Regions from separate parts of the Homo sapiens genome. Here regions 1, 3 and 4 are each linked to region 2. Evidence: promoter capture Hi-C in 16 types of primary human blood cells and fetal thymus (Javierre and others, 2016). All regions are on one chromosome and are shown on one strand. Each heading gives the region's core, a stretch centred on a gene start or on the middle of the fragment in contact. The rest is flanking DNA. Distances are from core to core; before and after follow the strand shown. Region 1 holds the start of UBE2E2 (ubiquitin conjugating enzyme E2 E2). Region 2 holds the start of SGO1 (shugoshin 1). Region 3 overlaps UBE2E1 (ubiquitin conjugating enzyme E2 E1). Region 4 overlaps RPL15 (ribosomal protein L15).

Region 1 (6,282 bases), core at 1,359-3,858, 3.0 Mb before region 2:
ATTTATGTGCATTTACATACTATCGAATGCCATAGTTATATAATTACTTAAAAAGATTACTCAATGATGTGATCTGAGCCATAATCTGAAACTCAAATTTCTACTGCCGAATATTAGAGGAAGATTAAAATAAAAATTAGTCTCACCAGAGAACTAATAAAAATACTATTAGAAATTCCCCAACAGAGGTGTAATTTCTGGTTTCACATTAAGGAAAAGAATTATTCCCACTTTTGAGTTAAGACATATTTCATCCAAATGTTAACCTACAAATGATAAGTCCATCTGAGGCCATTGATAACCACTATAGGAACTTTTAGAAATAAAGTTTTCACATCTCTTTTTCAAATATCAATAATAAAAGGAATTTCTCCTGGGTTTGTTTTTTGAATGCTTGATTACAGAAAAAGTATAGAAAAAAATTATTGTACCACTCAGGTGCAACGAATTTTTATGAAGAAAAAGTAGTCTATGAATCAATTTAATTAGTCGTAAGTGTAAACTTGATGTCTTGTCTCTCTGAAGTACAAATGAATAAAAATTCCTGAATTAAAATCCTTTAAACATTATCTTCTAAATTAGCATTTTAAAATTAATTCCTAAATAGCTAATCTGATCCGATTATCTCATCTACAGGGAAGATAAACTTAAATCCCAGGGTTATAAACAAACAGCTACTCTCCAATGATACTTTCAAAGATATTGAGAGAGATAAATACGCTTACTTCATAACTCAAAGTAAAATTTAATTTTTAACCATAAAATAAGTAGTCCTTCCTAAAACTATATTAAGAGGCTTACATATTGTTACTTCTTCAACACAAACTGTCTAAGCTTGTATTAGCTATGTACCCTATGTTGTAATTACAGTCCTGGAAATTAGCAACATACAGTGAATGAAACTCACATGTTCCATAAAAATGAAATGATTTGGCTTGAAATATTACTGACTACATAAAGGCAACTATAGTCATTCCATAAATCCAGCCTACTACCCAGGTAAGCCTTATAACAGTATCTACTAGTATAAAACTGCAAAACCAAGTGTTCATTTAAGCTTTTATAACAGGAAAGCGTTTAATTCTGTCATATATGTCTTGCTGTCTTCCTACTCATGTTTCTAAACTTTTCTAAAATGTAAAATAAATATATAGTATATGCACACAGCAATATCCAGCTTTAAATTTAACTGCAAAGACATTTATGCAGAAAATAACAGTGGAACACCTGATTTGGGGGTAAAAGGTGCTGCAGGGGAAAGAGAATGGGGTATGGCATTATATGAAAACACTCTATTTCAGCGTCAGCCCACATACAGAATTCCAAAGAGCCAAGGAGCATCCAAATTGCCGTAGTAAAGGCAAATATTTAGATTCACAAAGTCCAGACTGAATTATCACATATCTAGAAACATACTTTTTAAAGAAATCAGGGATTAAAAACTAAGAAGAGCGTAAAATCCTTTAGAACCGCGAGATACTTTGAGGGTAAACCCTAGCACTTCCTTTCGTACTTTTAAATAAAAATATTTTAGTAGACTCTCAAGAATACACAATACAAAACGATGAATCTTGAAAACATGCAAATGGGTCTAACAGCCACCGAGCACAGGATGATGTCTTTCTAAAGCAGCCTTAATTTCCTTAAGGGAAGATGGATTGGACATTTCTGGTTGGTCGTGGGGGAAAAAAGCCACAAGAAGCCACGCTTTATCTTCATTAGAAATGGTAAAGGGCAAAAAGATCAAAACATTATGAGAGAGATCGGAGAAAAGAGGGGGAGAAGTGGGGTGGGCGGGAAGGGGGAGAGGACAGAGGGAATCCAGTTTCAAACCAGGCCAGTGGGGGCTGCAGAGAAGAGACCAGAGAAAAATGGGCTTCGGTTCCAAACTGTGACAAGCGCCAGGCATCACAAAAGACCAATACAACACACACCCCTCACCAGGACACACACAAATATACCCCACAAGGTCTTCTCCGGGCGGGCCACCGGGGTGCGGCGGCGAAGGAGCCAAACCCGGCACTCGCCAGGAGACACACCATGTGCAGCAATTATGCAATTAGGGAAAATAGCAAAAGATCAAGCCGGGCACTTTCCACCGTGACATTTATCCTGTACTTTTGAAAAGACTTAGTTCCAGGATGCGGCTAGGAGAAGGAAAGCGCTGGGAGGGTTGAGAAGGATGGGGAACTGAGAACGGAAGGGGGTAGAAGGAGGACAGGGAGAGAAGAGGCAGAAGGGGGGGATGGGAAGAAGGGGGAGGGGTAGAAAGGGCGAGAAACGGGGGCAGGAGGCTCGCGGGAGGGGGCGTAGGGAACCGGGCACGGGGAGCGAGGAAGGAGGGAACTAGGGCACGAGCGGTGTAAGCAGAGACCTGCGACGCGGAGGGGAGGTCGGGGGAGTGAGGAGGACGTCAGCGAGAGGGAGGACGCCCGAGGAGGGGAGGCACCGGCGCGGCCCGAGCGAATACCTGAGGGGGGGGTGTCCGTGCAGGTCGCAGGCTCGAGCCGAAGCCCTGGGAGAGAGCTGCCCAGGCGCGAGGGGGAGGGAGACTGGGGAGGCCCCAGGGACGGGATGTCCCCTGCGGACCGTCTAGTCACCGAAAGCCGGACCCACGCACCACGCACCCGACCACGCCTGTCCCCGCCGCGCTCGCGCCCGCCCGGACTCACCCTCAGCGCCGCCGCTGCCGCCGCCCCCGGCCGTTCCAGCTCCGGCTCCTGAGGCTGCTGCCCGCGGCTGTCGCTGTGGCTGCCCCTGAGTCCTGGAAAGTGAAGCCACCACCTCCGGGAGCCGCCGCCGCCCGGCCGTCCGCGCGCGCACCCGCGAGTGCGCGTGCCTGCGCGCCCGCCCGGGAGAGACCGCGAGAGCGCGAGCCCCACGTCGGCCATGCGGCGCCGCGCGCCTCCCTCCTCCCCCCGCCCCTCCTCCTCCGGCGCGCGGCCGCGAGGGGGCGGGGGCGGGAGCGCGCCCGGGCGGGCTGCCCCGCCGGTCGGGAGAGGGGGTGGGGAGGCGGCGAGGAAAAGTAAAGTGACAGCTGGGTCCCGCGCGCAGACTGGGCTCTGACGGGGGTGAGCGAGGGGCGTCCCACGGGGAAGGAACGACAAGGACGGGGAGAAGTGGGGGAAACCGAGGCTGACGGGGTGGCTTGAGGGGAGGGGACGCGAGGACCTTGCCGGGCACGCGCATTAAAGGGAAACGCCGGCTGGGGGTTAGGGGTTACCCCAAGACGGTGCAGGCAGTGGGACGAGGAGGCCTTTTACCCCCATCCACCGCAGCCCTTGACTTCACGCTCGCCTCGAAGCTTTCGCAAAGTAGATACGGGGACTGACCCTGTTGACACACTAACCCAAACTCGCAGACGCGTGGGGCTCGCATGTACCCAAGACAGGAAAACTTCACGTTGGCCTGGAAACTTCTTCCAGGCTAAGCCTGAGTCTTCACCAGACACTGCAGCACGAAGGCCCTTCTGCCTTTTGGCTCGCCCTGGCCCAGAATGCGCACCAGCCGGTAGAGAGGAGCTTCGGGCCGTTTAGCCCTGGGGTATTGAAGAGAGGGGTGGGGGTACAGGGTGCACCACTGTCAGAGTGAGTGGGAAGCTGCCTTCATGCCCAGTTGAAGGATATGGGAACAGTAGCAGTGCTGTAGGTGGCATGAGGGAACATTAGGTTCCGTTGTACTCCTCATCCCAAATAACCGTTTAAAAAAAAAAAAAAAACGTACCTGCTTTGCGAACTTAGCTTCCACGAAATTTCTCCCACTCCAACCTCCAGCCTCACTTACCAACGGAATGCTGGGTCGTTGGCAACGGGGTGTCCAGGGATGCAGCAAAATTAACTTCTATCTTTGTGGAGGAAAGGATTGGAAGATCTTTCACTGCTTAATTGCTGAAATTATGGTTGCTACAGTACTTCATTTGACTGTAGATGTTTTAACTGCTATTTACTAAGTTCAAAATGGGTTTAATACAAATCAGTTACCCTTTTCATTTATTCAAGGAATATTTATTGATACCAGGCACTGTCTAGGTGGTAGATATATGACATTGAATAAAAGAAAAAAATCCTTGTCCTCAGAACTTCCCTATGTCTGAACCTTCTCTGTTGTACACTCAGCATCACATTCGTCAGCAAATTCTGTTGACTCTGTTTTCACAAATATATGGTGAAAATGTCCACTCCGTCTCACTCCCCTCCCCACTGCTAATGTCCTGGTCTAAGGCATCATCTCTCAATAATTATCTCCTACCTGATCTTTCTACCTCCCACTCTCCGCCTCCTCCCTCCCCAACACCTACACACAGCCGACTGTCCTTTAAAACAAAGATTAGATTATGTCTCTCTTCTTCTCAAAAATTCCAGTGGCTTCCCATCATAGAGCAACAGCCAAAGTGCAAAATATGGATACATGGCCTGCATGATGTGCCCACCATTCCCAGCCAGGATTCCCCTGACCTCAAGCTGTACGATTTCACTCCATCCTCGTCTCCTTCCAGCCACACCGGCCTTGCAGTTATGGACACACCAAGCATTCCTCAGCCTCAAGACCTGTGTACTTACTATTTCCTATCTCTAGAACATTCTTTCCTCCCACTCCTCCCCCAGAACTTCCTATCCACATCCTCTGCTTTTTCTCCATGATCACCACCTGACATAATACATTTTTTTACTTATTTATTAGTTTCCCCCTTCTGCTTTCTTTTTCCTCCCTCTCCCAGCCCTCCCACGTAAAAGCACCTTGAGAAAAAGGATTTCGTCGTCTGGGGTTCAGTGCTGTATATATTCAATAGATAATGACCGAGTGAAAGAAATTGGTCTCTTTCAGTTGATGACACAATAGGTATTGTTTCTAATTTCTTCAATAATTAGTACTTACCGTGTTCTTAATTTGTGCTAGGCAGCATGCTAAGCACTTTAGTTATACTAGGTCACAACCACCACACAGGTTGGTTTTATCCAATCAGCCCCACTGTACAGATGAGAATACTGAGGTACGGAGGGATTAAGTCACTCACCTACAGTCACATAGCTAGTGAGGAGCAGAGCTGGGACTCGAAATCAGCAGTTTGGCTCTGGAGTCTGTGAACTTAAGGACACTTTACCATGAGTCTGGTGTTACAGACATAAATATTTATTTGATTTTCTCTATTTCTCTCTTCTGCGGTGCAAACTTGGTCTCCAAGACAAATAGCTCATCTTCCTTATATTTTCTGCTCTGGTCCATCAGTCTGTCGTCATGAACTCACTCCTTTCTTACATTTCTTATTTCTGATCATTAATTTAGAGCCTACGTTTTTTCCCCCTGCAACTGGCAAATTGGAATGTTTTTTGAAGGGTCCTTCTTAAAACGTTGTTACTGCCAACTTCGTGAGTAAGTAGAGCCACAGTTAGTTTTCCAGTTTGACTGGATGGGTGATAGAAAAGACCTCTCTCAGGGGAACTGGGCTGAATTTGAGCAGAAGCATTATACTGGTAGAGCCCTGCTACTTATTTAGGCAACTTCTGTTCTTGTTAGGCACCCAATTATCAGGGGTTATTACATATTTATATTATACCCTTTGAAAGAAACATCATATTAGCTCAGGTTTTCCAAAGAATGGGATAGAAAACAATGATCTGTTGCATACTGTCTGGCTTGAAGGAGGCTGTAGTCACCCCGAATGTTTTGGATACTTAAGGGCAACAGTGGTGTAGGAAAATTGAAACTCCAATAGAACTGCAACCCCATTACCTACCTAGTTCAGTACCAACGCAAAGGTACGACCAGGTGCTTTAAAAAAATGTTTGTTTCATAAATAAATAAATGAAATTCTAGCAGGGAATAGAAGTGTACTGAGGACAAATTCCCCTGACTTCCCCATTTGTTCAGGAACTGCTACCTGGACCACTATGTATGATCGTGTATTTTGTACACTGCAAAGTATCAGGGGGTGCCATTCATGTAAATTAAGATGCAAACATAGAAGTGTGGCTGCTCCTCTCACCCCTAGACGTTGCCTGAGTATGGTAATCAGTCTCTAAGATGTCCCACTGATCCCTGCCTCTTGGTATTCACACCCTTGTGTAATCCCCTCCTACGTCATGCTAGGGTTGGTGTAATGCTGTGAGAAAGGAGGGTATGTCACTTCCAAGATTAGTTTAGGGCTTCCATCTTGGTTGCGCACACACTGATGCTCTCTCTCTCTCTTTGCTGTCACTGACTCTGGGGAAAGCTAGCTGCCATATTGTGAGCAGCCCTGTGGAGAGGCCCATGTGACTAAAAAATAAGACCCGCTAACATCCA
Region 2 (7,232 bases), core at 4,109-6,608:
CACCCAGCTAATTTTTGTATATTTAGTAGACGGCGTTTCACCATGTTGGCCAGGATGATCTTGATCTCCTGACTTCGTGATCCGCCCGCCTGGGCCTCCCAAAGTGCTGGGATTACAGGCATGAGCCACTGTGCCCAGCCTTGCACATTTTCTAATTGGATTGTTTGCTTTTTCCCTGTTGAATTTGGATATTTATATACTTATTATAAAGACTAGTCCTTTGTTGGATAGGTGGTATGTTAGTTTCCTAGGGCTGCTATTACAAATTACCACAAGTGGGGTCACTTAAAACGAAAGAAATTTATTCTTTCACAGTTCTGAAGGCCAGACGTCCAAAGCCAAGGTGTCAGCAGGTGGTACTCCCTCTGGAGGCTCAGAACGAAATCCACTCCTTGCCTCTTCCAGTTTCTGGCAGCTGTCGGCATTCCTAGGTTTGTGACATCTTTCCCTCTGCTAGTCTTCACATCACCCTCTCTGTGCCTGGCTTGTGGCCTCATGACTATAATTTCTATCTTCATCTTCACATTGCCTTCTCTCCGTATGTGTTAAATTTCTCTCTGCCTTATTCTTACCAGGCTGCTTGAGATGGAACTAAACACTGATTTTGATCGTACTCGACTATTCTTATTGTCCTTTTAATGCTTATATCCCTTTTAATGATCCATAAGTGTTTACTGGTTCATGATATCAGCACATGACACAAAACCAAAATTAGCAACAAAATAACATAGCATCAATAATTTGTGTTTCTAGCATAAAGCCTTAACAAAAATGACATAACTCTGGTATGTGTGTATGTATCCCTTTTCCTCTGGGACTTACACTCACATTAGCCATCACAAAGACTTCCTCACATCTGTATGTGGTAGGCCTTTAGACATTTGAATGATTTGACAAAGGTCAAAGCAACATCAATAAATGTAAATGTATTTAAAGTATATAGTATCATGATTAAGGACACAGGCCCTGGAGTCAGATTGACAGCAAAGCTTGTACCTGGCTTCATGCTTACTAGATTCACCACATTACGCCTCTATTTCTTCATCTGAAAAAATAGGTTTATAAGCTTTATCACAAGGATAAAATGAGTTAATTCATATAAAGCACTAGTATTTTCCTGGCAGAAAGTATGCCCTCATTCAGTGTTAGCTGTTATAATTCAACTAATTGTTCACATGTCTCGCTATGCTAAGAGAAATGGGAACCACTAAAAAAAAAAAAAAAAAAAAAGACATGAATTCCACTATACAATAAATAATAGCCTTATGAAAGCAATACATATGCATATTTCTGAAAAACACAAATGAAACATAAAAACAGCATAAAGTGCTATCTATTCCTTGTAGTCTTCTGCCCACTTTATGCATGTACAAACTCTCCAAAGCCTGTCACTATTGAGCTGAAGAAAGTACTAAACTAATAAAAGCAGACGTCAAAAAAATACAGTCACAAAACATTTTGATGCCTTGCTGTATTTCAGTTTTGAAAATTTTGGTCACCAAATTACTAATTTTTGTATTGCTATTCAAGTTAATCCGCACCACATTCCATGATAACTATTGTATTAAACTTTCTCAAAAAATTTTTTTAAAATATTAATTCCAGAGAGGAGACACATTAATATATTTTTGATTGTCAAATAAACAGAGAGGAGTTTAATTTTTTTCTTTAAAAATAAGGAGATCACAAGAGAACATGAACCAGAAAGAAATAATAAAATACAAAATAATAATATTGATAAAAATTCAGGAGAAGTCCAAGCATGGTGGTTCATGCCTGTAATCCCAGCACTTTGGGACGCCAAGGCAGGAGAGTGGTTTGAGCCCAAGAGTTCGAGACAAGCCCAGGCAAAATAGCAAGACCCTGTCTCTACAGATTTTTTTTTTTTAATTAGCTGGACATAGCAATGCATGCCTATGGTCCCAGCTACTCAGAAGGCTGAGGTGGTAGGATCACTTGAGCCTGGGAAGTTGAGGCTGCAGCAAGCCATGATCGCACCACTACCCTCCAGCCTGGGCAGCAGAGTGACAAACCCTGTCAGAAAACAACCACCACCACCAAGAAGAAATCAGAAGAAGATATCAAGTCTGTGCAGGACTTCAGCTCCGTAAATAAAAATCATAAAATCTGCACATAGTAATAAATGTTAGGAACAAGGCAGTTAAAGATTAGTAACAAGCAGTTTTATTGGGATTTTAGGAACTTGCAGGGGAGAATGTGAGTGCTCATTATATTTTAAATACATCATAAAGTTAAAACCAATGAAAGTAGAAATAACATGCATTCACATTTTGAAAAACCTTGAAAGTAATGCAGCTACAAATATTCACTATCATTTGAGAGCAAGCTTTTTAAGAAGTTAAAATGATTTGAATTATACCATAACTATTCTAAACATCTATTAAATTAAACAAAGAATTTTCACTAATTGGTTACCCTTTCATAGGTTCTTCTCAGTTTGTCAGCTAGATGATGTGTTCCTACACTGTACTTTGCGATATAATTAAACCATGGATTATCTCTGAATTAGGCTGGGTACAACTGTGATATAACAAAAGGGAGAAGTCGCAGAACATAGTCCAGCTGTTAATAGCATGGACTTTGGAGCCAGGCTTCCTGGGTTCAAACTCCAGTCCACCATTTAGTACTCTTTGAAATATGCATATTTTTGTTCAAAAAGGAATATGTGCATTCTTCCTGGGAAGAGTTGTAGTTTCCACAAAATTTTAAAAGAGCTATTGATTCCAACAGTAATTCAGTTCCCTAAAATCAGCGGCAGTAGAACATTTTGATGTACAAAAGTTACTCATGCTAGGACTCTGGTGGTATTTTCCCTCACTGCCCCTAAATTCAGCCATTTCTATTCTTTAGGGCTCTATAATAAACACCTGATTTGAAGTCTGACCCATTTTTAAATTGGGAACGGGGAAGACACCCCTCAAAAAGTCAGAACCTCAAAGCCTTTGGTCAGGGCCAGCTATATAATCTGTGTGGGTCAATGTGAAATGAAAATATGATGCTCCTTGTTCAAAATCCAAGACAAAAACCTTCAGCTTACCGATAAGTAGAGAAAGACTGAAAAGAAAAGGAATTGTGGAATGTCTTATCTTTCCTTTTCCTTTCATGCCATCACTTTTAGTGTAAGTGGTTAGAAAATATAGTAACGTGGTTGGGCATGATGGCTTAGCCTGTAATCCCAGTTTGGAAGGCTGAGGCAGACAGATCACTTGAGCTCAGGAGTTTGAGACCAGCCTAGGCAACATGGCAAAACTCTGTCTCTACAAAAAAATACAAAAATTAGGGGGCGTAGTGGTGGGTCCCTGTAATCCCAGCTACCTGGGAGGCTGAGGCAGGAGAACTGCTTGAACCTGGGAGGCAGAGGTTGCAGTGAGCTAAGATGATGTCACTGCACTCCAACCTGGGAGACACAGCAAAACTCCGTCTCAAAGAAAATAATAATAATTTCAAGAGGGCAAGGGTGAGCCCTTCTGAGCACTTTGTACTTAGGTCCCTAACTACAAAATAAGTGGTTCATGGAGGCCATTTAGTGCGCATCCTGAACATTGTATGACATGGGGCAAGAAACAGTGACAGACACACACATTGCATGAATCACATCTGCTCACAAGATTGCTCCATTGTCTCATCAGACATCACTTACAAAACATAAGTTCAAATATAAACTCCTAAGCATTTCAAGACGGCAACAGCAGAGCATTAAACCAAATGTACAGCCCTTCTAAGCACCGGTTGCCTGCTCATGAAGCTGGCCCTATTCTCTGCTCTCATGTTCCACTTCATAATTTTCTGACCTCAAACAACAAAAAACCTCTCTGCCCATTCCTTCTTGATGCTTCTACACATATAAGCCACATTGCCCAGTGGCAGTAAACTGAGGGTTAATGGAGTTGGTCTGGTTAACTTGGAAAACGAGGGAGTTGTTGGCTGGAGAAGGGTGTTTCAGCCTCTTCCACTCAAGCCAGGATGGGTACCCAGACTAGAGCAAGCATGTGTTAGCTACCTTTAAAAAACAACAACACACCTTCATAAAGAATGCCTAGATTCAAAACATTTGTTTCGTTTTCATTTATTTGTTCCTTTATTGTCCCAGTGAATATTTACTACTTACTTCAAATTGCAACGAGATGCTGACAATTTAGCTATGAACAAAGCAGATGTAGTTCCTGCCCTTATTCAACTTCAAGAAACAGGCAATGAACGACAAGTCAGTGTCACAAGGAATACCAAGGGGAAAATGCAGGGCACTAAGAAAGTGTAAAGCAGACACTCAGGGGCTTTAGGGGTAGATAAGTCTTTCTGGAAGAATTCATCTGTACAGTGAAACTTCAGTATACATAGGAGTAAGTTCGGCCAAGGGAAAGAGTGTTCTTGACAGAACAGCATTGGCAAAAGTGGCAAGAATTTTAAGAAAATTAAAGAAAATGTACAAGTGATGGAACCAGGAATCATGGGGCTCTTTAAGGACAAAATATCTTAAAGGAGTTTGAAATTCACCTTAAATGCAATAGGGAGCCATTGTAAAGTTTCCTATTTGATACTTGTTTTGTAAAAATATTAATCTATGAAGAATATAGGGAGTGGAGTCTGCGGTCAGAGTGGGTACTAGTGCAATTTAGGGAATGAGATTAGGCTGGAAGCTGGATTGGGGGGAAAAAGATGGGCATGAGAGAAACTTGGAAAGCAGAGTTGAGAAGATCGTGTGACCGACTGGACGGGCAAAGGTTAAGAGAGGATAAATAATCATTAAGGACGATTTCTCAGGCTTCTAGTCGGTAACTGGATGGATGTTGGTGCCATTTCTCGAGAAGAGTTAAAGAGCCAGAGATAGCCGGCAAAGAGAAACATGGAGCTAGAATTTTCAGGTATCTGCAGTTTCCCTAATACCTTTTTAATCCAGAATTTGCTCCTTGTTTTGGTTTTAATTCCTCTAAAAGCTGCTTCCGTGTTGCAAGCTGGCTGACCGCTTTAACAGGCAACCAAAGAGATTCTTCTCACAAGAGGGAGGCTTTGAGCACAACCCGGGACATTTGAAGCTGTCAGACTGAAGAAACAGGAAGCTTTGAACTACCTATCACACTCGGCCTTAAAGGTTTCGGAGTAACTCCACCCGTAAAATCCCCACGACTCTGATTAGAAAGTCCCGGCGGGTCGCCGAGACCCGACCGCAGGCTCCGCCCCAGGGCCAGGTGGATGCCCGGATGTGGACTTGAGCGAATGTGCGTCACGTGACGTCGCCTGGCGGGGCGGGACTCTGCCTGCGACGGTGGTGTTGGGTGCATCCTGCGCCACGTGACCGCCTCCCAGCCAACCAATGGAGGAGCGAGGCGGAAAATTTCGAATGTGGCGGCGGTAGTTCCAGGCGACGGCGGACGGTGGTACGGTCCTGGAGGGCCCAGTGCGCGGGGCTAGCCGTGGCTGGAGAGCTTCGAAGAGCCTTGAAATGTGAGGAGGAGGAAGATAGCTGTTGCAGAAGTAGTGGCCAAGGTATCGTTCTGGACGCGCCTGCGGCAGGAGGGTCGCCGCGTCCACTTCCGCCAGCCCCACCTCCCCCCGGCCTTCCTGGAGTCCCTGAAAGAGGAAGAAGTAGGTTTTAAGGTGCGAAACAAGGGCGTAGTGATCCCTGTTTGACTTCCCTTCGGTTTTCAGTATCATTCTAAATTCGGTGGCCGAAAGCTCGGGCCGTGGAGTCCCACTCGCCGCGCTTTTCGCCGTTCAGCCACTCGATCTGCGCTTTCAGATGTTCCGGCTTCCATGGAGACCCTAATTTCCTACTTTGCAAAATTGTGTAGATTAAGTGATGTGCAAATAAAGCTTTTACAATAGCTAAAAGCCTGGCTCAACGTAAGGACACAAGAAAATTGACAGCAGTTCTTTGTGCAGCGTGATACCGTTGACGTCCTCCTTGTCCAGGCCATTCTCTTCCTCACTTACCCTGGAGAGGCCGGCACTGACTAGTATCCTACCTGGCTGTCTTCGCAGCAGGACTAATTGGAGAATTATGGACGGAGATCAAATATGCTAGGTTCTTTAAATCCAGAGCGCTTACACGAGTACTGTACAGATTGAGACCGTCATCTCGCGCTGTGGTCTGTCTTTGCTTTCATCCCTTCTGTCTACCACACCCCCTGCTAATAACCATCGCCTTATTTAGACAGGATATAAAACTTTTGATATGGCAAGTTTCTTTTGTGATTTTTAACTTGATTAAAAGTAATAACGAAAGCTTTTTAGGTAAGGCTTTGCCTTTAAAATACCTTAACTAAACTAGATCCGTTACTTAATCTGTATGACTCTCAAACATCTCCAATTCTAACTTAATTGTGTAAAACAACCCCTTTACCGTTCGTGCTTTTAAAAATAGCTACCCTATCTCTGCTAGGAACCTCCCAGTACATATTGTATATACCTTGGTAGAAAGAAAGTTCTTAAGTGGTATCTACAATACCTATATTTAAGATTCCAGACACTGCATAGAGGAAAATAAGGCCTGGAGGAAATACTCAAGATTAAGTGTAAGGTTTAGGAAAATATTTGACTATCGTAGAGGAGATGAAGATATCCTTTGTAGTGAAAATTCTGTGCATAGATTGTTATTGGAAACAAGTCTTTTTTTTTTGCAATTTTAAGATCTGCAAAGTGCAATCTAGCGTAAAAGATGTTTGTGAAAAGTGGTTTGACATGTTTAGTAGCATGCTAAAGCCTACCTGATTTGCAACGTTGAAAGATTAAGTATAGTTATGTATTTAATACTCAACGTTTAACTGTATGTACAACAATATTTAATGTCTGATTTGTTATGTTCATAATTTACTGGGAGTTAACAGCCCTAACTTTTAGCCACAGTTTGAGAATACTAGAGTGTTCCTCTGCCCAAGTTCCTGCTCTAGCTCTGTACTTGTTACAATAGCCTATTAAAATTGTATGTAGTGCTACATAGTTTAAACCTCTAAGGAGTACCTTGACTTTCTTGAGACTGTGTGCATATCATAAGTGATAATTGCGTTTAAAGAGTATGGAAAAATAGTTGAATGACCTAATCTGATGAATTAATCATTAGAGAAGAGCTGGAAAACAAAACCCAAATATATAATTGCCTCAGAACTAATGCTGTAAGCTTAAGCAGTAAAAGTTGGTCCTAAACATTTTCTATAAAAAGTGTAAATAATGCATCAAAATATAATAATAAGCATTTTCAATAGTGTCTGGCATAT
Region 3 (6,819 bases), core at 2,653-5,152, 3.6 Mb before region 2:
CCAAGGCCAGGTGCAGTGGCTCACGCCCGTAACCCCAGCACTTTGGGAGGCCAAGGCGGGCAGATCACAAGGTCAGGAGTTCAAGACCTGCCTGGCCAACATGGTGAAACCCCATCTCTACCCAAAATACAAAAATTAGCTGGGCATGGTGGCACGTGCCTATAATCCCAGCTACTCAGGAGGCAGGAGAATTGCTTGAACCAGGACCCGGGAGGTGGAGGTTGCAATGAGCCGAAATCATGCCACTGCACTCCAGCCTGGGCTACAGAGCAAGACTCCGTCTCAAAAAGAAAATAAATAAATAAATAAATAAATAATCCATCTTTATCTCCAATAAAGTACATTAAAATACTAAATAATTAAATTCCAAAAGGTAACAGCACAAAACGTAAAACCGAACTCTTTTAAGAGAGCTGAATATTGGGACTACTATATAACATTAAGACAGCACCATTAGCCAACCAAAAGTAAAAATTTTAATTCACATTACTCAAACGGCCCCACTGGAAAATATCTTCAGAAAATAAAGTCATCTTTATTGTTAAAAGACAATGTAATATACATTCTCTTGCAAAATGAAGATGCCTCGTATTTTCTCTCAAATCAGAGATTTTTCTTAAAATTTAGTATTTTGAGCTTTGACTCCGTAACACCAATCACCCAACAGCCACCCAGTTTGGTGCATCCCCTGACCACAGGTAATTCCCAAACGTTTCACCTTGAAGGGGTAATTGGGAGGGTTTCCCAAAGATAAAAAAGTTCCACATGCCTCAGGAGCATAAATCTTTCACACATAAACTCAGTTAAAACGATGTGAAACTGAAGTGTACTTACACTGTTTTTTTTTTTTAAATGCTTAATCCCATGAAAATCTTCAAATGGTTTACAATTTTAGATTTGACTGTGCTTATTCACAAGAAAGCCATTATATGTTTTAATCAATGTTATTAATAACACACACATAGGAGACACACAATACCAAGCAGGAGCAATAACTAGACAGCACAGAACCACCTTGGGGAATGTACATGGATTCCACACAAACAACCAAGGGAAGCTACAGGCTTCCACGTGAACCACCACCATCAAAATAATGAGTTAGGCCTAAGTCTTATGGTTTTTCCACTTCTCAACCATCTTGAGAGATTATTAGCCAGGAAAGAATTCCCCAGAATGATTAAGTGTTCCAATTATAAACTATAGTTTAAGAGCATTTCAAACTCAAAATGACTTTCCTTACAAAACAGGACAAAGTTTCACGGAAGAGCATCCCACACCTAATCAACATTAAGAATGAATGTAACCAAAACGGCAATAGTTTTGTATTTAATCCACTAATTAGTTTCCAAAGTTCACTGTTACTAAACAAAATACTTCATTTAGCTTTTCAACCTATTCCCACACACTCATCTTAAAAATTGTGTATAGCCGCTGAATACTTTGTCAGTAACTTCTACTCCTACCAATAAGTTTAGAGTATTTCTGAAATCTCACATCCCTTTCCAACGCCGATCTTGAGAACTAGGTTAAATGTTATACTTAATTTTTAAAGTATGGGAGTTACAGGACCTCCCTTAAATAAATGGTTCTATTCTAATACATAGTTGTAAGTTACCCTCACTTCATTGTTGATCTAGTAAAGTCATCAAGTCTTCCACCTTGACTCAACAGTAGCAAAATGGCTTCTCTAAATAAAGCTGTGATCAACAAACCCTTAGAAAGCTGGTTTCAATTTGTTTTGAAACTGAAACACACATATGTATACAGTCTGAATAAAGCAAGTGAAAAAAACACCCCATGAAAGTTTAACTCTACAATTTAAAAGAAAACCTTTATCAAAGCCAGAAATTGTTTCCTGAATTGCTCTGCCAAAAGTCTAATAAAAAATCTATATGCTATGGAGTAAGTTTGAAGATCCAGTGTTTAACTCTAATGTTCTCTTAGCTTAGCAGAGATTGAATAAGAGATTACTGTAGCAAAGCAGTTTTCCAAACCAAAATGTCCTTCGCATCTGAAAGGTTTTACATCATCTTTAATGGCATATCAAAGACCCATGATTAGGCAAGGAGACACCTTTAAATTTACTTTAGTTTTGTTTCATATATGTAAAAATCCACTCCAAATAAATCCATTACTTCTTCTCAACAGTACTGAGCTTGTCAGAGGCTCATCAAAACATTATACTCAGGTTAATAAATTTCAGCTGTTACGTGATGTTAGTGCCATAACAAGCATTAGCCAAAGAATCAAAGAAAAAGTATATAATAAAAAGAAAAACCCAAGACAAAGGTTAGAAGAATTTTAAAAATGGAAAAAATCCGAAAAGCAACTCACCTGCAATTAGGTGGAGGGTCTAAAGTGATGTCCGCCAGCTCCTTCTGAATTCTGGAGTGGGAGAAATGGGAAAGACAAACACAAGAAGCATTAAGGCGCGGAAGCCTCCCACCTGTAGCGTGCAGGTCTGCAGATAAACCTAAGCGCGATCACTGGATTCTACTGGGCAAAGAGGAACTACACATCAAGAACTTCAGGTCCCTAGTTTAGGAAAAAAACTTTTCACGGAGGAAGTGAGGCAGCCTGGAATCTCCTGTTCTCATCTGCAAAGTTTGGCTTCCAACCTTGCCTCGCACACCAGGGCAGTTCTATTCCTCGGTGTTTTCCATGTAGGACCTAATTTTAAAGTTTCTCACTTGCCGACCGGTTTCCTCAGTCCCTCCCCTGCACCTCTCCCCAGCACGGAGAGATCACAGCCATCGGTGCGTGGGAAGGACGCCAGCCTCCAGCCTCCCTTGCCCCTTTCACCCCTCAGATGCCCCCATGCCCACCCCGGCAGGGCGCCCCCGACAGGCCGAAGGTCCGAGGCCTCGCTCAACACCCGACCCGCCCGGAGTCCTCAGTGACGAAGCCAACATGGCCGCTCCCCACGAGGCCCCTCGGGCCCGAGTGACCTGCCAGCCGTGGCGGGGTGCCCGGGAGGCCCAGACCGCAGGTCGCTCCCCAGCGGTGGGCTGCCACCGCCCGGCCACGCCGCCCCCACCCCGCGCGCGCCCCCGACGGCTCGCGCCGCGCCGGTGAAGTTGCGGGCGGGGGAGGGGAACAGGGTGCCCGCACGGGGGCTGCTCCGCGCCGCCCCAGCTCTCCTCTCCCGGCGCCCAGAACCTTGGCCCGAGACCGCGCGCGAAAGCAGGGCGCGAACACCCCCGCCCGCCACTCGGGCACCACAGACCCCAAGTGGCCGGCCCGCGGCCGCACAGGTGCACCGGACCCTGCCTCCGCCCCGCACGCTGGCCGGGACTCTCGGCCCACCTCCCCGGACCTGCTTTTCCCCGGGCGTCCTCTAACTTCCCGGGGTCTGCCCACTTCCTTCATGGTCCGCTCTCTAGCTCACACTGGGGATAGACTGGAGACCTGCAGTTTTCTCCCTCCGCACCAACCCTCGACTTCACAAAGGGCCCCATCCCCCACTCATAGGCCGAAGCCACCAGGCAGTTCACACCAAGCCCTGGCCTTTGTCTTTTGCTTACCTAGGCACTTAGAGCATCAATTAATACGACAGTTTAGGGCCTCTAAGCTTCTTCCACCTTCTAAACGGTGCCTAATTTTATAACCTTTCCTCCTCCTATCATATAAAGCCCAATGGGGCTATGTTACAACTTAAAAATCTCACCGAGGCAGCACTGTAGTTAAAAAAATTTTAAACACACACACAGAGCAATCTAATTCACAAAGGATACGTTTTCCTTTCCAAAGGTTTTCTGCGGGTAGGAGGACGGACGAGCTATATGTAATGAGGAACAGGTTTTAAGGACGACGACTGGGGGAGGTTCTATAAACCTTCCTACTGGAGGACATTTCCTGTCCCTACGTATCTGTCAACTTTAGAAAGGGGTTTGTTCACAATCTCAATTGACACGTATTTGTGTCCTGCTAAATTCTACTATCAAAAAGCGTTTCATTTCTGAGACATTCATACTCCCGCTGTTTGACTCATGACTGTACATTAGACTCAAAGTTTGGAAAATTGGTTTCCTGATTCTTTACCTGAATCTTTTCAAATAACTGTATTTTAAGACCTACACACGTAGGCAAAAATTTCCTCCCCGGAGCACAACGCATATAAAAATACATATTGACTTCAGTCCTCCTTGCCAACCCAACTCCCACTATAAAATAGTCACAAAAAAAGGTAGTTGTTTCTTTAATACCTAAGAAGCGTTAATACCAAAAAGCTTTATCAACTTCATCTTGACAGACAGCATTTGCATTTCCAAAAAACTGGCAAGAGATTTGCAGGAGTAACTCATACCTATTTCCAGAGAGTCATTCTTGTTCAGACCACTTGCAATGGGGGCTTTCCTCTACCCACGGTTTAGAAACCACTTTCCAACATGCAGTTAGCAGCCTGTTAGTCTGCCAATTCAGGCTTCTTTTTCACTCCTACTCCTGGTGAATGTGCCCCTTCCAATTCTATGGGCAACACCTACCTTCCAAATCAATATACTTCACAGAACAGCCTCTATAGGGTCCCACTAACATCAATTTTCCCCATTCTCTTTCCTGGATACACTGTCCCTCTCCATTTTTTTACCTTTTTCTATTAACTTTAGGTCTGCTTTAACACTAATAGCTACTCTTTCAGCAAGATTATCAAGGAGCTAAATTCATTGCAAAAACAAAACAAAAGCCCTGATGTTAATTTATAGGTAAAATTACTATTTGTAGCTTCCCACCTTTCATTTTTCTACACCTATCATCTCTTTTCCAGAACTTCCAAATAAATTCTTAACTTGTTTAAAATAAACAAAGTATGTCTAGTGAAAAAAATCCCCCTCTCTGTAATTCACTCACAACAAAAGCAGAGTATTTTCTATTTGATACCTGTGTCTTTACCCCCAAATATATTCATGTACACCAGGGATATCTAGCAAAATATAAAAATGCAAATTACCAAAAGCAAGTATCCTGGCTTGAGCACGTGAGGCCAAAACGTGAATGAGGATCAGAGAGCCTAGAGGATTGAGGTGGGGCGCAGTATTAAGGAAGGGCCCGTCCCAAGTGGGCAGAGTAGATGTCAGGTTCCAGGAAAACCGCACAGGGCTAATCAGTGAGGGTCAGTCAGGCCTCCTGAGAAGCTGTACAATCAAACCAAACCTATAAAAATGAGAACAATCTTGCAGAGGCACCTTGCCACTTAAGACCTCCACACTATTTTTTAAAAGTCACTCCTTCATCAGCCCATGGTTAGGTCACCAAAACACTGCCAAGTTTTCAAATTACAAGTCAGGGAGAATGACAGAACAAACTCTCAAACCCTGACTTCCAGGCTCACTACTCAGTGGAGAGATCTAAAGTCTCATGTTCTACTTTATTTTAAAAATTTTTAAGAAGGGTATCCCTATCCCATCATTTGGAGTTCTTACTATCTTCCTGGTTTGCCACCTTTTTAACAACTGCCTAACTCTGAGAGCAGAAGGATTTATGAAAGGGTGTCTCAGAGCTCCTAGGAATCCACTAAAGATGATTTTGAGGGTCATGGCGATCAGAGGATATTACTGAAGGATGGCAGGGGTAAAAAGTAGCTACCTCCAGAGGCTTAAGAGGAAAAGAATAAAGAAAAAGGGTGACCGCTTAGGATGGCAGGGATAAAAAGTAGCTACCTTCAGGGCCTTAAGAGGAAAAGAATAAAGTAAAAGGGAGACCACTTAAATTGAAAAAATAAGGCAAAGTAACATTTTCACAGCATGAGGACAGCAAATAGCATGAAAAAAAGACAAGTCTCCCTGAAATTGGTAAACTGAAGTTTTTAAAGAGAACCACAAAAATAACCTAGAATAACCATTTTATAGTCACTTACTGATTCATTCATTTGCCTCAACTCTCAGAAAAATCTCTTTAAATTCCACCAGAAAACATCTGTCTTCACCTACTAAATTTTGTACCTGCTAATATGAGTTTCTTATTCCTTATGCAATTTGTGAAGAAAGCTCTATTTAGAAAAGATCATCCATGCAACAGGTGAGGAGAAGGTAAAATGGTCACAGAATTCATTTTGATGCAGTTCTCTGGGCTGGTATTAGTAATTAAGAAATGGGATCATGGCCTTGGGGAAGGTCACAGATTAACCATTAGTAGGACAAGAAATCTGAAATCAGATTTGGGGGTCACTAATAAAAGTAACGAGGAATCTTACAAACTTCAGCAAGAAATGCGAGAGGCAAGCCGCAACAGCTGCATGTGAGCAATGATTTAAAAACAGAAGCAGCAATAGAGAAAATAATTAGGGCTTCCAAGGCCCTTCTTTCATTTTTAAGAACACATAAACCATGAGGAGCGTTTAAGCTATCCTCATTGGGAGGCAGACCAAATGCAGCAAGAGGCAGTTCGGAAATAGGAAGCCTGTGGAAAAAAAAAAGAGCACAGTACCTCTTGGCGCTGGTGGAGAGGAGTTTGGAGTTTTTGCTCATGCTGACTTTACTCTCCTTCTTCTTGGGGGTGTTTGTTTCTTTCTCGGTTTGCTGGTTGGAAGACGAAGATGAGGAGGAGCTGGTGCTGGCCCTCGAATCGTCATCCGACATAGCGAACCCCCCACCCCACCCCGCAAACAGCCCCTGCAGGGGGAGAGAAACAAAACAGAAACACACAAACCATGCAGCCAGTGTAAATAAGGAACTCGGGTGCTGTCAGGAGGGCATTGACCAGGGGCGCACGCGGCCGCCCACCGCCCTCCACTCGCTTTTCAAAGTCTGCAGGCCCATTAAGGCTTTTGCAAATCGGACGCGGCTTGTTTATTTTTGGCCCCAAGTGGGGAACGCTGTGGGA
Region 4 (6,730 bases), core at 2,335-4,834, 3.7 Mb before region 2:
GGTCCAACAGTTTGGCAAAAGATGCAGCCAAATTGCAGCAAATGGAAAACTAAAGGTCTTTTTCGACCAAAACCTTTTTTCTTAGAAAAGGTGTTGTAGCAGTTCATTCTTCTACAGTTTGTACCATTGGGATAAAACTCTTATCAAAAACTTCTAAAAACCTAAAATCGCCCTGACAAAGGAAGTGGTAATTATACAATTAAAATATCTATAGCAACAAATACTATTCTCATATGAAATCTATACATCAAACTTTTTACGGTAAAACTAGACTTCATATGCCTCATCTTCATCTACTAGAGAATGACACAAAAAAAAAGAAGAGGAAGAAGAGGAAGAGGAAAGAGAAGGAGAGAAAGAGGAAGAAGAGAAAAAAGAGAGAAGAGGAGGACGAGGAGCAAGAGGAGGAGGAGGAAGGAGGAGGAGGAAGAAGAAAGAAGAAGAAATAAAGAAGAATTTCAAGGGTCTAAGTCAGTACTATGGCCGGGCGCCATGGCTCATACCTATAATCCCAGCACTTTGGGAGTCCAAGGCAGGTGGATCACCTAAGGTCAGGCGTTTGAGACCAGCCTGGCCAACACGGCGAAACCCTGTCTCTACTAAAAACACAAAAATTAGCTGGGCGTGGTGGCGGGTGCCTGTAATCCCAGCTACTTGGGAGGCTGAGGCAGGGAGAATTGCTTGAACCTGGGAGGCAGAGGTTACAGTGAGCCAAGATTGTGCCACTGCACTCCAGCCTGGGCGACAGAGCAAGACGCTGTCTCAAAAAATAAATAAATAAATAAAAATAAAAATAAATAAATTGGCACTATACAACAGAAATTTCTGTGATGGTCAAAATATTTTCTGTGCTGTCCAACGTGGTAGCCAATGTGCCCACTGAGCATTTGAAATGTAACTAATATGACTGGAGAACTGACTTTTAAATCCTATTTAAATTTTAAAAGTCACAGATGGCTAGTGGCTATCATATTGAAAAGCATACAGCTAAAGTATTTTTCAGTGAATATTTGTGGGTATACAGCAAGGAAGCTATCACATAATAAAGTGTCAAATGAATTGGTTGCAGAGTTGTATGCAGATAACCATATTTTACCAAATGAATTAACTCAATAAGGGAATGCATTGTCTGTAGGAGAATTGTAAAACAACAAAAACTGAGTAAAAGTACATTTATTTATTTATTTATTTATTTTTTTGAGACAGAGTCTTACTCTGTCAACCAGGCTGAAGTGCAGTGGCGCAGTCTTGGCTCACCGCAGCTTCAACTTCCCAAGCTCAGGTGATTCTCCCACCTTAGCCTCCTGAGTAGCTGGAACCACAGGCGCATGCCACTGTGCCCAGCTAATTTTTTGTATTTTTAATAGAGACGGGTTTCGCCATCTTGCCCAGGCTGGTCTCAAACTCCTGAGCTCAAGCAATCCGCCTGCCTCGGCCTTCCAATGTGCTAGGATTACAGGTGTGAGCCACCAAGCCCAGTCTCAGTATGTTCTTTTTCAACATCATCATATTCTGGCAATGCTAAGCAATGTCAGTGACAAAATACTCTCTCTACCAGTGTGGACTGCGCTGGTTCCTGCTTTCTCCTTGGTATACTAGCTGTTTTCCATAATACTTCAAATGGGTACAAAGACTAAAGAGAAACGAAATGGATTAGTGTATGTGGTAGACATTAGAGCTGTTCACAAATATTTGATTCTCTCTCTCCTTCCAAGCACTGGAAGATATCACTTCCCCACCCTTTGAACCCAGGAGTAGCCATGGGACAACCTGAGCAGAAGCTTTACAGGTTAGGGTGTTCTACGCCATGCTCTTTGCCCTCTGCCATGGACACCTCGCAATGTTCCAGATAGTGTCTGTTCTAACAGTCTGGATTCTAGAGTGAGAACAATCTTTAACATACATGAAGTATGATCAAGAAACAAATCTTTATTATTTTAAGCCACTGAAATTTGGAGGCTATTACTGTTGCCTCATTTAGTCTGCCTGATACAATATAGCTACTAATTTGGTTTAGGAATTTCAGAACTTAAAGATGAAATCAGAACTTAGAATTGAAAGGCGAAAATGAACAGTTGAAATTTGAAGAATTTATTCTACATAAAGTTACCTTCAAGAATCTTATGAGCAGGGCCAGGCTTGGTGGCTTATTCCTGTAATCCCAGCACTTTGGGAGGCCAAGACGGGCGCAGATCACCTGAGATCAGGGGTAATAGACCAGCCTGGCAAACATGGTGCAAACCCGCCTCTACTAAAAGTACAAAAAAATTAGTAGTGGCGCACACCTGTAATCCCAGCTACTTGGGAGGCTGAGGCATGAAAATCACTTGAACCCAGAAGGTGGAGGTTGCAGTGAGCTGAGATCGTGCTACTGTACTCCAGCCTGGGTGACAGAGACTCGTCTCAAAAAATAAGAATCTCATGAGCAGAAAAATTATGAAGCATAGGAGAAATGAGCTAGCAGCTCCTTCCAATTTATTAATATAGCATGGTACATAAGGGAGGGGGGATTCTCTGATAGAAAAGTGGAAAGCCACTGTAAAGCAAACATAAAAAACGCTTTTAAATGTACAAATAATGCTCAACTTTATTTATTGAATTAGTTAGGGCTAAGCTAGGCTATGCTGCCATAATAACAAAACACAACTAATGCAGTCGTTTGACACAATAAAATCTTACCACTCATGCTGTCTGATGCGGTTGAGCAGCTTTCACCCATCTTGTATTAATAGCTATGCTATCTGGATCACTGGCTTCCACAGTTGTGGGAAGTGTGGAGGAGGCATACCAACTGTTGTTTTTCTTGGAGGGAAGTAATATGACCCCAACCTAAATGCATGAGAGGCCAGGAAAACAATGTAGTTTAGTTGTGTTTTCAGGGGGAGAAAAAGCTATGGTATGCACATAGCTTTGCCTCTGCCACACTCAGAATGCAAAATAAAAGTAGAGAAGAGTATCATTTCCCCCTAACAGACTGGCAGATATCCCAAAATTTGATTACATACATTAAAGAGGGTGTGGATAAACAAGTCCTCTCCTACTTTGCTGGTGGTAGTGAAAATTGGTTCAACTTTTATGGAAGACAATTTGGCAATATCTATAAAAAATTATATACATACAATTTTTAACTCTGCCATTCTACTTCTAAGAATTTATTCTACAGATGAATAAAGATGTATGCACACATTTTTCTTTTTGTAATAGCAACAGATTGGAAGAAATTTAAATGTCCATCAGGAGGGTCCACATCCAATGAATCATGGTACATCCACATGATGGGATACCATGCAGTTATACCAAAAGAATGAAGTTCCAGCCGGGCACGGTTGCTCATGCCTGTAATCCCACTACTTTGGGAGGCTGAGATGGGCGGATCACCTGAGGTCAGGAGTTCGAGACCAGCTTGGCCAAAATGGTGAAACCCCGTCTCTACTGAAAATACAAAAATAGCTGGATGTAGTGGCAGGCACCTGTAATCCTAGCTACTCGGAGGCTGAGGCAGGAGAATCGCTTGAACCTGGGAGGCAGAAGTTGCTGCGAGCCAAGATTGTGTTACTGTACTCCAACCTGGGCTATAAGAGCAAAACTACATCTCAAAAAAAAAAAAAAAAATGAAGTTCCTCATGAGCTGATAAAGAATAAGCTCTGAGATACATAACTAAACAAAAAAATCAACAATGTGTATCATATCCTACCACTTGGGGAAGAAAAGGAAAAAATACATATGTAGGCCAGGCACCGTGGCCCACATCTGTAATCCCAGCACTTTGGGAAGCAGAGACAGGAAGATTGCTTGAGCCCAGGACTTTGAGACCAGCCTGAACAACATGGTGAAACCCTGTCTCTACAAAAAATACAAAAATTAGCCTGGCATGGTGGTGTGCACCTGTGGTTCCAGCTACTCGACAGGCTGAGGTGGGAGGATTGCTTGAGCCAGGAGGTTGAGGCTACAGTAAGTTGTGAACGCGCCACTACACTCCAGCCTGGGCAACAGTGAGACCCTGTCTCAAAATAAAAAAATATTGTTAAACTGATCACCTTGCCTCCAGGGAGAGGAACTAGGAGGCAGAAGGGTTTGTACTGTAGAGCCTATACTTATCTTTTGAATTTTTAACGTTAATGTATTATCTATCAAAAACTTTAAGTTGGCCACGTGCAGTGGCTGACACCTGTAATCCCGGCACTTTGGGAGGCCAAGGCGGGAGGATCACCTGAGGTCAGGAGCTCGAGACCATCCTGGCCAACATGGTGAAACCGTCTCTACTAAAAATACAAAAATTAGCTGGGTGTGGTGGTGCGTGCCTGTAGTCCCAGCTACTCGGGAGGCTGAGGCAGGAGAATCGCTTGAACCCGGGTTGCAGTGAGCTGAGATCGTGCCACTGCACTCCAGCCTTGCGACACAGTGAGACTCCATCTCAAAAAAAACCAAAACAAAACAAATAAACTTTAAGTGTATAGGATTTGAATTCAGACTGTCACTGTATGACTTTGAGCAAGTTGCTTCATCTTTGTGTTTCCTCATTGGCAAAAAAGGATTAATACTAGTAACTGCACCTTTTGGGATTGTAAGAAACCAATTGTTATTTTTGAGACAAGTTCTGGCTCTATCACCCAAGATGGGAGTGCAGTGGTGTGATTTCGGAGACTACAGGCGTGCAACACCATGCCCAGCTGATTTGTTATTTTTTGTGAGATGGGCTCTCACCACGTTGCTCAGGCTGCTCTCTAACTCATGAGCTCAAGCCCACCTTGGTTACCGAAAGTGTTGGGATTGCAGGCGTGAGCCACCGCACCCAGCCAATTGTTGTTATTACTAAAGTAAATTTGGGCCCGGTGTGGTGGCTCATTCCTATAATTCCAGCACTTTGGGAGGCCAAGGCAGGATTGCTTGAGGCCAGTAGTTTGAGACCAACCTGGGCAACATAGTGAGATCCTGTCTGTACAAAAAATAAAAATTGGGCTGGGGGTGGTGGCTCACGCCTGTAATCCCAGCACTTTGGGAGGCCAAGGCAGGTGGATCACTTGAGGTCAGGAGTTCGAGACCAGCCTGGCCAACATAGTGAAACCCAGTCTCTACTAAAAATACAAAACTTAGCTGGGCATGGCAGTGTGCGCCTGTAGTCCTGGCTATTTGGGAGGCCGAGGCAGAAGAATTGCTCAAACCCGGGAGACAGAGGTTGCAGTGAGCCGTGATTGCCCCACTGCACTCCCACCTGAGTGAGAGTGAGACTCCATCTGGAAAAAAAAAAAAAAAAAAAAAAACTCAATAATCAATGTTGCTGTGTGAATTACATGCCAATATAGAAATAGTAAAGCAAATGGGAACAGCTTGTGGGGCGGTCAGGGTATAGCTAATAAAGTGACCCTTAATATTGGAGTAAAGCTTTCCCATCATAAAGGCATTAGGAAGTGTTTGGTGTATTTGAAGAACAAACAGCAAGGAGCCTGGGGTGTGGACTGCAGTAGGACATGAGGTCACACATAAAGTGGGAAGATCATGAAAGCTATCATGAGGACTTTTGATTTTTTTGCACGGGAGTGCCATGATCAATTTAATAGGATCCCTTGGACTACTGTGTGGAGATAAAACTGTTGGGTAGCAAGGACAGGAACAAGGTTTTCTTGTAGAGACAATGCTGACCTTTGGCCCGAACCCTTTCTCTCCTTCCCAAATTAGTCATGTTTAAGGATTTTTTTTGTTTTTAGGTCTCACTATGCTGCCCAGGCTGGCCTCAACAAATCCTCCAGCTTGTCTCCCAAAGTGCCAGGATTACAGGCCTGAGCCACCACACCCAGCTGAACAGTTTTAGATAAAAACCTAATTCATGCAATGATCAAAGAACTGAGAGAATAAGTACATTTTATGCTATCTCAAATTATATTATTTCTATAATCACATTTTGATGCCTTTTTGCTGGTTAGGGCATTTGGTTTGCTTTAAAGTACATTAGCACTGTAAGATGACAAAAAATAACAGAAGGTCCATTTGTTTTAGTTTAATAGACATTTATTCCTTCAGTTGAACAACCTCTACACAATTAAAATGTATGACTTAAGATCTTTTCTTTTTTTGTGAAGAAATTTAGGTCTCAAGAACTTTTATGAACTTGCTATGAGTACTTCCTGGAAATCAATTAACTGAGTCTTTTGAAACCCCTAGAGAAGATAGGAGAAAATTGGTTCAGAACGAGCATTTAAATTAAGTCAGCAAAGTCAGAATTTAAAATTGGGCAATTCCTTGTCTACATTTTCTTTACACTCAAATTGACCCTGGACAACAGTAGTCTAGTCTCCTGGAAGACATGGTGCAAACAGAAATGCAATGTGGTGGTATACTCATAGTCAAAGTGGGTGCACAAGTGATGGTCCAACTTTGTGGAATGGTAAGGATTTTTAGGGTTGTTTGGCCAGAACAAGAGAAATAACTGCAGAAAACACATATGGTTGGAAACCATGCGCTTGTGACTTTTTCTGTAGCCTATGGGAGTGGACAGAGTGGGTAACCCAAGATGTTTTTAAGACTGACTGGACTAAGAATGACGTACTTATAGCCAACTACTTTCCCCCTAATGTGACTGAAGGGATTCATAATGATCACAATTAGCATTACGGTTAAGTATTTTAGGGTTGACGTCTAAGCTCACACTTGAAAGGTATTTATCTAATGGCCACTGGCTCACCAGCTTCCCACCCTAGCATTCATTGCTAGCTTACCAATCTTAAGGCTAAT

The links. The method cuts DNA at HindIII sites, captures the fragments that hold promoters and counts their contacts. A CHiCAGO score of 5 or more calls a contact.
Region 1: a contact is called between the fragment with the promoter of UBE2E2 here and the fragment with the promoter of SGO1 in region 2, in 3 of 17 cell types (erythroblasts, fetal thymus and non-activated CD4 T cells). The highest score is 6.6, in erythroblasts.
Region 3: a contact is called between a fragment that was not itself captured here and the fragment with the promoter of SGO1 in region 2, in 6 of 17 cell types (non-activated CD4 T cells, naive CD8 T cells, naive CD4 T cells and 3 more). The highest score is 17.8, in non-activated CD4 T cells.
Region 4: a fragment that was not itself captured here is called in contact with the fragment with the promoter of SGO1 in region 2 in 2 of 17 cell types (non-activated CD4 T cells and naive CD8 T cells); the score reaches 8.2 in non-activated CD4 T cells.

Annotation. Positions count from the first base shown.
Region 1 is chr3:23,199,653-23,205,934 of GRCh38, reverse strand. It overlaps UBE2E2 (ubiquitin conjugating enzyme E2 E2), which reads right to left and starts at 2,608. Exons shown (of 6, transcript NM_152653.4): 1 at 2,471-2,608. UBE2E2-DT (UBE2E2 divergent transcript) reads left to right here and starts at 2,942. Exons shown (of 2, transcript NR_136176.1): 1 at 2,942-3,071. RefSeq lists a silencer at 2,448-3,137 and enhancers at 3,488-3,547, 2,960-3,935. The HindIII fragment of the contact is 2,247 bases long and covers 1,060-3,306 here.
Region 2 is chr3:20,184,332-20,191,563 of GRCh38, reverse strand. It overlaps SGO1 (shugoshin 1), which reads left to right and starts at 5,358. Exons shown (of 8, transcript NM_001199251.3): 1 at 5,358-5,616. SGO1-AS1 (SGO1 antisense RNA 1) reads right to left here. Exons shown (of 4, transcript NR_132785.1): 4 at 5,449-5,589. RefSeq lists enhancers at 4,881-4,940, 4,961-5,640. The HindIII fragment of the contact is 754 bases long and covers 5,081-5,834 here.
Region 3 is chr3:23,807,026-23,813,844 of GRCh38, reverse strand. UBE2E1 (ubiquitin conjugating enzyme E2 E1) reads right to left here. Exons shown (of 6, transcript NM_003341.5): 2 at 6,424-6,608; 3 at 2,335-2,385. The coding sequence starts at 6,575. Among named protein-coding and RNA genes, the nearest start is that of UBE2E1-AS1, 3.5 kb to the right of the region's middle. RefSeq lists silencers at 2,933-3,252, 6,765-6,819 and enhancers at 3,723-3,782, 6,375-6,464. The HindIII fragment of the contact is 658 bases long and covers 3,574-4,231 here.
Region 4 is chr3:23,920,103-23,926,832 of GRCh38, reverse strand. It overlaps RPL15 (ribosomal protein L15), which reads right to left. Exons shown (of 4, transcript NM_002948.5): 4 at 5,844-6,730. It also overlaps a transcript of NKIRAS1 not described here. Among named protein-coding and RNA genes, the nearest start is that of RPL15, 6.3 kb to the right of the region's middle. The HindIII fragment of the contact is 3,602 bases long and covers 1,784-5,385 here.